2 separate regions of the Homo sapiens genome follow, and region 2 is linked to region 1. The links are contacts of gene promoters, found by promoter capture Hi-C in human tissues and cell types (Jung and others, 2019). All regions are on one chromosome and are shown on one strand. Each heading gives the region's core, a stretch centred on a gene start or on the middle of the fragment in contact. The rest is flanking DNA. Distances are from core to core; before and after follow the strand shown. Region 1 holds the start of SERPINE1 (serpin family E member 1). Region 2 overlaps CUX1 (cut like homeobox 1).

Region 1 (3,434 bases), core at 819-3,318:
CCACATACACTAAACCCAACAGTCCGTGGACCCCAAGTATGCCATCTCTCCAATACAGGACCCCCTGGGCAGCACCCTGGCCACCCTTCCATCCACAACATCCAGACCACACGGCCAAGGGCACCTGACCCTGTCAAAACCCCAAATCCAGCTGGGCGCGGTGGCTCATGCCTGTAATCCCAGCATTTGGGAGGCCGAGGCAGCCGGATCACGAAGTCAGGAGTTCGAGACCAGCCTGACCAACATGGTGAAACCCCGTCTCTACTAAAATACAAAAATTAGCCGGGCGTGGTGGTGCACACCTGTAATCCCAGCTACTCGGGAGGCTGAGGCAGGAGAACCACTTGAACCTGGGAGGCGGAGATTGCAGTGAGCCAAGATAGTGCTACTGCACTCAGCCTGGGCAACAAAATAAGACTCCGTCTCAAAACAGAAAAACAAAAAAAACAAAAAACAACAACAACAACAAAATCCACTAGTCTAGCCCTACATGCTCACCCACTGCTAGCCAGTTTCCACCCTCTACAGCAGAGGTACCCAACCTCTGGGCCAGGGGCCCGTACTGGTCCATAGCCTGTTAGGAACCAGGCTGCATAACAGGAGGTGAGTGGCAGGTGAGTGAAATTTCATCTGTAGTTACAGCCACTCCTCATCACTCGCATTACCACCAGAGCTCCACTCCCTGTCAGATCAGCGGCGGCATTAGATTCTCATAGGAGCTCGAACCCTATTCTAAACTGTTCATGTGAGGGATCTAGGTTGCAAGCTCCCTATGAGAATCTAATGCCTGATGATCTGTCACGGTCTCCCATCACCCCTAGATGGGACCATCTAGTTGCAGGAAAACAAGCTCAGGGCTCCCACTGATTCTACACGATGGTGAATTGTGGAATTATTTCATTATATATATTACAATGTAATAATAATAGAAATAAAGCACACAATAAATGTAATGTGCTTGAATCATCCCGAAACCATCCCACCCTGGTCTGTGAAAAAATTGTCTTCCATGAAACCAGTCCCTGGTGCCAAAAACGTTGAGGACCACTGCTCCACAGAATCTATCGGTCACTCTTCCTCCCCTCACCCCCTTGCCCTAAAAGCACACCCTGCAAACCTGCCATGAATTGACACTCTGTTTCTATCCCTTTTCCCCTTGTGTCTGTGTCTGGAGGAAGAGGATAAAGGACAAGCTGCCCCAAGTCCTAGCGGGCAGCTCGAAGAAGTGAAACTTACACGTTGGTCTCCTGTTTCCTTACCAAGCTTTTACCATGGTAACCCCTGGTCCCGTTCAGCCACCACCACCCCACCCAGCACACCTCCAACCTCAGCCAGACAAGGTTGTTGACACAAGAGAGCCCTCAGGGGCACAGAGAGAGTCTGGACACGTGGGGAGTCAGCCGTGTATCATCGGAGGCGGCCGGGCACATGGCAGGGATGAGGGAAAGACCAAGAGTCCTCTGTTGGGCCCAAGTCCTAGACAGACAAAACCTAGACAATCACGTGGCTGGCTGCATGCCCTGTGGCTGTTGGGCTGGGCCCAGGAGGAGGGAGGGGCGCTCTTTCCTGGAGGTGGTCCAGAGCACCGGGTGGACAGCCCTGGGGGAAAACTTCCACGTTTTGATGGAGGTTATCTTTGATAACTCCACAGTGACCTGGTTCGCCAAAGGAAAAGCAGGCAACGTGAGCTGTTTTTTTTTTCTCCAAGCTGAACACTAGGGGTCCTAGGCTTTTTGGGTCACCCGGCATGGCAGACAGTCAACCTGGCAGGACATCCGGGAGAGACAGACACAGGCAGAGGGCAGAAAGGTCAAGGGAGGTTCTCAGGCCAAGGCTATTGGGGTTTGCTCAATTGTTCCTGAATGCTCTTACACACGTACACACACAGAGCAGCACACACACACACACACACATGCCTCAGCAAGTCCCAGAGAGGGAGGTGTCGAGGGGGACCCGCTGGCTGTTCAGACGGACTCCCAGAGCCAGTGAGTGGGTGGGGCTGGAACATGAGTTCATCTATTTCCTGCCCACATCTGGTATAAAAGGAGGCAGTGGCCCACAGAGGAGCACAGCTGTGTTTGGCTGCAGGGCCAAGAGCGCTGTCAAGAAGACCCACACGCCCCCCTCCAGCAGCTGAATTCCTGCAGCTCAGCAGCCGCCGCCAGAGCAGGACGAACCGCCAATCGCAAGGCACCTCTGAGAACTTCAGGTAGGAGAAAAGCAAACTCCCTCCAACCTCTTACTTCGGGCTTAAGGCAGAGAACTCGCCTCCCCAGAATCTCCTCCCTCCATGATCCCCCGCTATTCCTCTATTTTCTTTTCCTCGGACCTGCAGCCTTGGGTCGACCCTGCCCTAGGGGTGACTGCAGGAGAGCAGGGAGGATGGTCAGGCGTCACCAACAACCCCATCACCCAGTAACAAGAACCTTGACTCTCTCAGTCCCTCTGCATCAAGACACTTACCCATTTCCCACCTCATGCCTGCTAACTTGAATGAAACAATCGCTGGGAAAGCATTAAGAGAATTAAGGCTGGGCACTGTGGCTCATGCCTGTAATCCCAGCACTTTGTGAGGCTGAGGCAGGCAGATAACTTGAGCCCAGGAGTTTGAGACCAGCCTGGGCAACATGGCAAAACCCTGCTCTCCCAAAAAAATACAAAAATTAGCTGGGCGTGCTGGTGTGCCTGTATTCCCAGCTACTTGGGAGGCTGAGGTGGGAGGATTGCTTCAGCTGGGGAGGCGGAGGCTGCAGGGAGCCAAGACTGAGCCATTGCACCCAGCCTGGGTGACAGAGCAAGACCCTGTCTCTAAAAATGAATGAAAGGAAGGAAGAAAGAGAGAGAAAGAGAGAGAGGAAAGAAGGAAGGAAGTAAAGAAGAAAGAAAGAAAGAAAGAGGAAAGAGGAAGAAAGAAAGAAAAGAAAGAAAAGAAAAGAAAGCAAATTTAAAGCTTATGCAAATCAAAGATGTTGTGATAATTGATAATTGAGTCTGGGCTAAATTCCCCCTGGGCTGCAAAGGCAGAGAGTGGTAATGACTTCTCACCTGCTTTTCTTCTAAGGCTTTTTTACGGGACACAGAGGGAAGGGAGATGGACTGGATTCCAAGATTCCCACAGGGCAAGATGGGCGAAGACTCCCTGCCACTGCCCGGGGATAAGTCAGTCTGAGTGAGACGGAGTGGGATGGGCTTAGAACCTGAACATGTCATGGTCTCTTCCTGCACCTTGCCCTAGTGTTCACTTACCACCTGCTTGCAGGAAACAAGAAGAGCAGGGCCCACAGCTGGCCAGCTCCCCTCCCCTCCCGCCTGTCTTCCAGAACGATTCCTTCACCAGCCCTCTTTCCATTGCTCTAGGATGCAGATGTCTCCAGCCCTCACCTGCCTAGTCCTGGGCCTGGCCCTTGTCTTTGGTGAAGGGTCTGCTGTGCACC
Region 2 (3,278 bases), core at 323-2,822, 1.0 Mb after region 1:
TCCCAACTCCATGAATTATGTAACCTCAAGCAGGGCAGGAGGTTTCCTTACTCAGACCTTAGTATTTTCATAAGTGAAATAAAAGAATGCCACGCCTCACCTGTAATCCCAGCACTTTGGGAGATCAAGGCAGGTGGATCACTTGAGGCCAAGAGTTTGAGACCAGACTGGCCAACATGAGGAAACCCTGTCTCTATTAAAAATACAAAAATTTGCTGGGCGTGGTGGCATGTGTCTGTAATTCTAGCTACTCGGGAGGCTGAAGTAGAAGAATCACTTGAACTGGGGAGGTGGAGGTTGCAGTGAGCTGAGATCCCGCCACTGCACTCCAGCCTGGGCAACAGAGACTCTGTTTCAAAAAAAAAAGAGAAAAGAATGCCACATTAGTGCCTGGTACAGGACCTCTATAAAGGGTGGCTGACATTGCTGCTCCTGCTGCCTGCAAGGCACCTGGCATCACCTGGCACATTTTAAAAAGGTCTGCTTACCTCCCCCTGCTCAAGGTCTCTTCCCACTCTTAAGAATTATGTCGCTTTCCATGATGAGTTTGTAAAAATCATTATCCGCACTGCAAGACCTACTCATCCATATTAGCGTGCCACAGCTGGGGCACCCAGGTGTAAAGCTTTGTTTCCCATCATCTTCCTCAGGGACCCTAAATTTTAAAATCTGCATCAGTCACCATTGAGGTGCCACTAAATGTGGTGGCCAAAAGTTCCAAGTTCAAACCATTGCACAGCTGCAAATGCCTTCATAGATGGGTCTCTAAAAAATCAAACACCAGGGCTGGGCACAGTGGCTCACCTCTGTAATCCCAGCACTTTGGGAGGCCAAGATGGGCAGATCACTTGAGGTCAGGAGTTCGAGACCAGCCTGGCCAACATGGTAAAACCCTGTCTCTACTAAAAATACAAAAATTAGCTGGGCGTGGTAGTGGGTGCCTGTAATCCCAGCTACTCGGGAGGCTGAAGCAGGAGAATGGCTTGAACCTGGGAGGCAGAGGCTGCAGTGAGCCGAGATTGTGCCATTGCACTCCAGCCTGGGAAACAGAGTGAGGCTCCATCTCAAAGAAAAAATCAACACCAGAGGTTAATAATCTAGTAACTAACTGTCTTCTATGTGCCACATTTTTGCAAGATCCAAGTTTTAAAGTGAGAACAAGTTGTTCGGTCCCCGCCCAGCTGACTGTGACACCAAGGTGGCGGCCCGCATTGGAGATCTGGTTCCATCTGACTTGGAAAATTTGGGGCACCGTGGGCTGGTGTGAAACAAATTAAAAGAGGTGCCAAACAGCCAGGCACCCAGCAAGGATGCCCAGGGCTCTTGTTCGGGGATTTCGTTAAAAAACTTTTTGGAACCCACCTCAAAGAATGAAAAGTTTCCTATAGGAAGGCAGGAGCGAGCGAGATAATTGAACTCATTGATTTCCTTCACGGCTTGTTTGCCCTTTCATTCTCTTCCCGAGGTGCTATTTGTTGAGGAATGTCTCCAATTGCCAGAAAGACAGTGGGGTGTCTCATATTTCCTCGCCACCTCTCCTTTCAGCCAGTGCTGAGTTCTAAGGCAAGCCTGCAATATGAATTTTTAATGCCGAGCTTTATGGCATCACTCCCGCACAGCCCGACTGCATCACTCTCCTGAGCCTTCAGATTTAATGCTCCAATGAACAGAGCAAAGACTGGGGCATTCAACATCAGTGAGAATTAACCCCCACATGACCACAGCAGTGCCCTCTGATTTTCCTAAAGAGGGTTGGGAAAAAATAAAAATTATGTAGTGTTGGCCGGGTAAGGTGGCTCACACCTGTAACTCCATCACTTTGGGAGGCTGAGATGGGTGGATCACCTGAGGTCAGGAGTTCGAGACCAGTCTGGCCAACATAGCAAAACCCCATCTCTACTAAAAACACAAAAATTAGCTGGGCGTGGTGACGGGAGCTTGTAATCCCAGCTACTTGGGAGGCTGAGGCAGGAGAATCGCTTGAACCCAGGAGGCAGAGGTTGCAGTGAGCTGAAATCACGCCACTGCACTCCAGCCTGGGCAACAGAGCAAGACTCCATCTTATAAAAAAAATTATGTAGTGTTGAGAATCCTTGCTATCCAAATAGCCTGAAGCACAAAAGCACAGCTTATTCTTGAAATTTTATGGAATAGCCTATATTTTGACCTTTTTGCTTCTTCTAAGTTGGACGATGTGTGCTTCGAAGCATTTCTGTGATCTTCCCACCCTTAAAAAAAAAATCTCTGCAGGCTGGGAGTGGTGGCTCACGCCTGTAATCCCAGCACTTTGGGAGACTGTGGTGGGCAGATTGCCTGAGGTCAGGAGTTCAAGACCGGCCTGGCCAACATGATGAAACCCTGTCTCTACTGAAAATACGAAAATTAGCCGGGCGTGGTGGTACACGCCTGTAGTCCCAGCTACTCAGAAAGCTGAGTCAGCGAGATCATGCCACTGCATTTCAGCCTGGTCAACAGAGTGAGACTCCATCTCAAAAAAAAAAAAAAAAAACTCTCCAGTTTGTAGGATTTAATGAATATATAGATGACCGGCTGTTCTGCGGTTTCCGTGGAAAGCCCAAATGTAATTAGAAATCCAATTTCCGATCGATTTTTCCAATGGAAAAAGGACCAGTTGTGTTAAGTGGCTAATTCTTTTTTTATGCAGATGGTTGATTGTCATTTTCTTATAGTAGCTTTCTGAATTTTTGCAGACGTCAAAACTAAGAAAAAGTTGTATATAAAAATTGCTCAATTGGCCAGGTGCAGTGGCTCACGCCTCTAATCCTAACATTTTGGGAGGCCGAGGCAGGAGGGTCGTTTGAGGCCAGGAATTCAAGACCAGCCTGGGCAAAACAGCAAGACATAATTTCTGTTTAAAAAAAAAAAAAAAAGTTTGAACATAAAAACTGCTCAAATTTAAGTACATTAAAGAAGGACAGAGTCTTTAGTAAATGGTAGAATAACAAGCCAACTATGTAGAAGCCAGTAGAATCAGAGCTGAGCCCCATGCAAAATAAAATCTATTTAGTTATTTTTATTTATTTTTTATTTTATTTATTTATTTTTTTTTTTTGAGACAGGGTCTTGCTGTCTCACCCAGGCTGAAGTGCAGTGGCGTGATCTTGGCTCACTGCAACCTCTGCCTCCCAGGTTCAAGCAGTTCTCCTGCCTCAGCCTCCTGAGTAGCTGGGATTACAGGCGCGCACCACCATGCCTAGCCAATTTTTGTATTTTAGTAAAGATGGGGTTTCACCATGTTGGCTAGGCTGGTCTTGAAC

What was found. The method cuts DNA at HindIII sites, captures the fragments that hold promoters and counts their contacts. A contact is called where the count stands out against the background at its distance.
Region 2: a fragment that was not itself captured here is called in contact with the fragment with the promoter of SERPINE1 in region 1 in 1 of the 25 tissues and cell types used here (mesenchymal stem cells).

The regions. Positions count from the first base shown.
Region 1 is chr7:101,125,036-101,128,469 of GRCh38, forward strand. SERPINE1 (serpin family E member 1) reads left to right here and starts at 2,069. Exons shown (of 9, transcript NM_000602.5): 1 at 2,069-2,209; 2 at 3,358-3,434. The coding sequence starts at 3,359. RefSeq lists enhancers at 945-1,724, 2,505-3,284, 3,285-3,434. The HindIII fragment of the contact is 16,005 bases long and covers 1-3,434 here.
Region 2 is chr7:102,128,618-102,131,895 of GRCh38, forward strand. All of the region lies in intron 8 of CUX1 (cut like homeobox 1), which reads left to right. Among named protein-coding and RNA genes, the nearest start is that of SH2B2, 160 kb to the right of the region's middle. The HindIII fragment of the contact is 4,034 bases long and covers 1-3,278 here.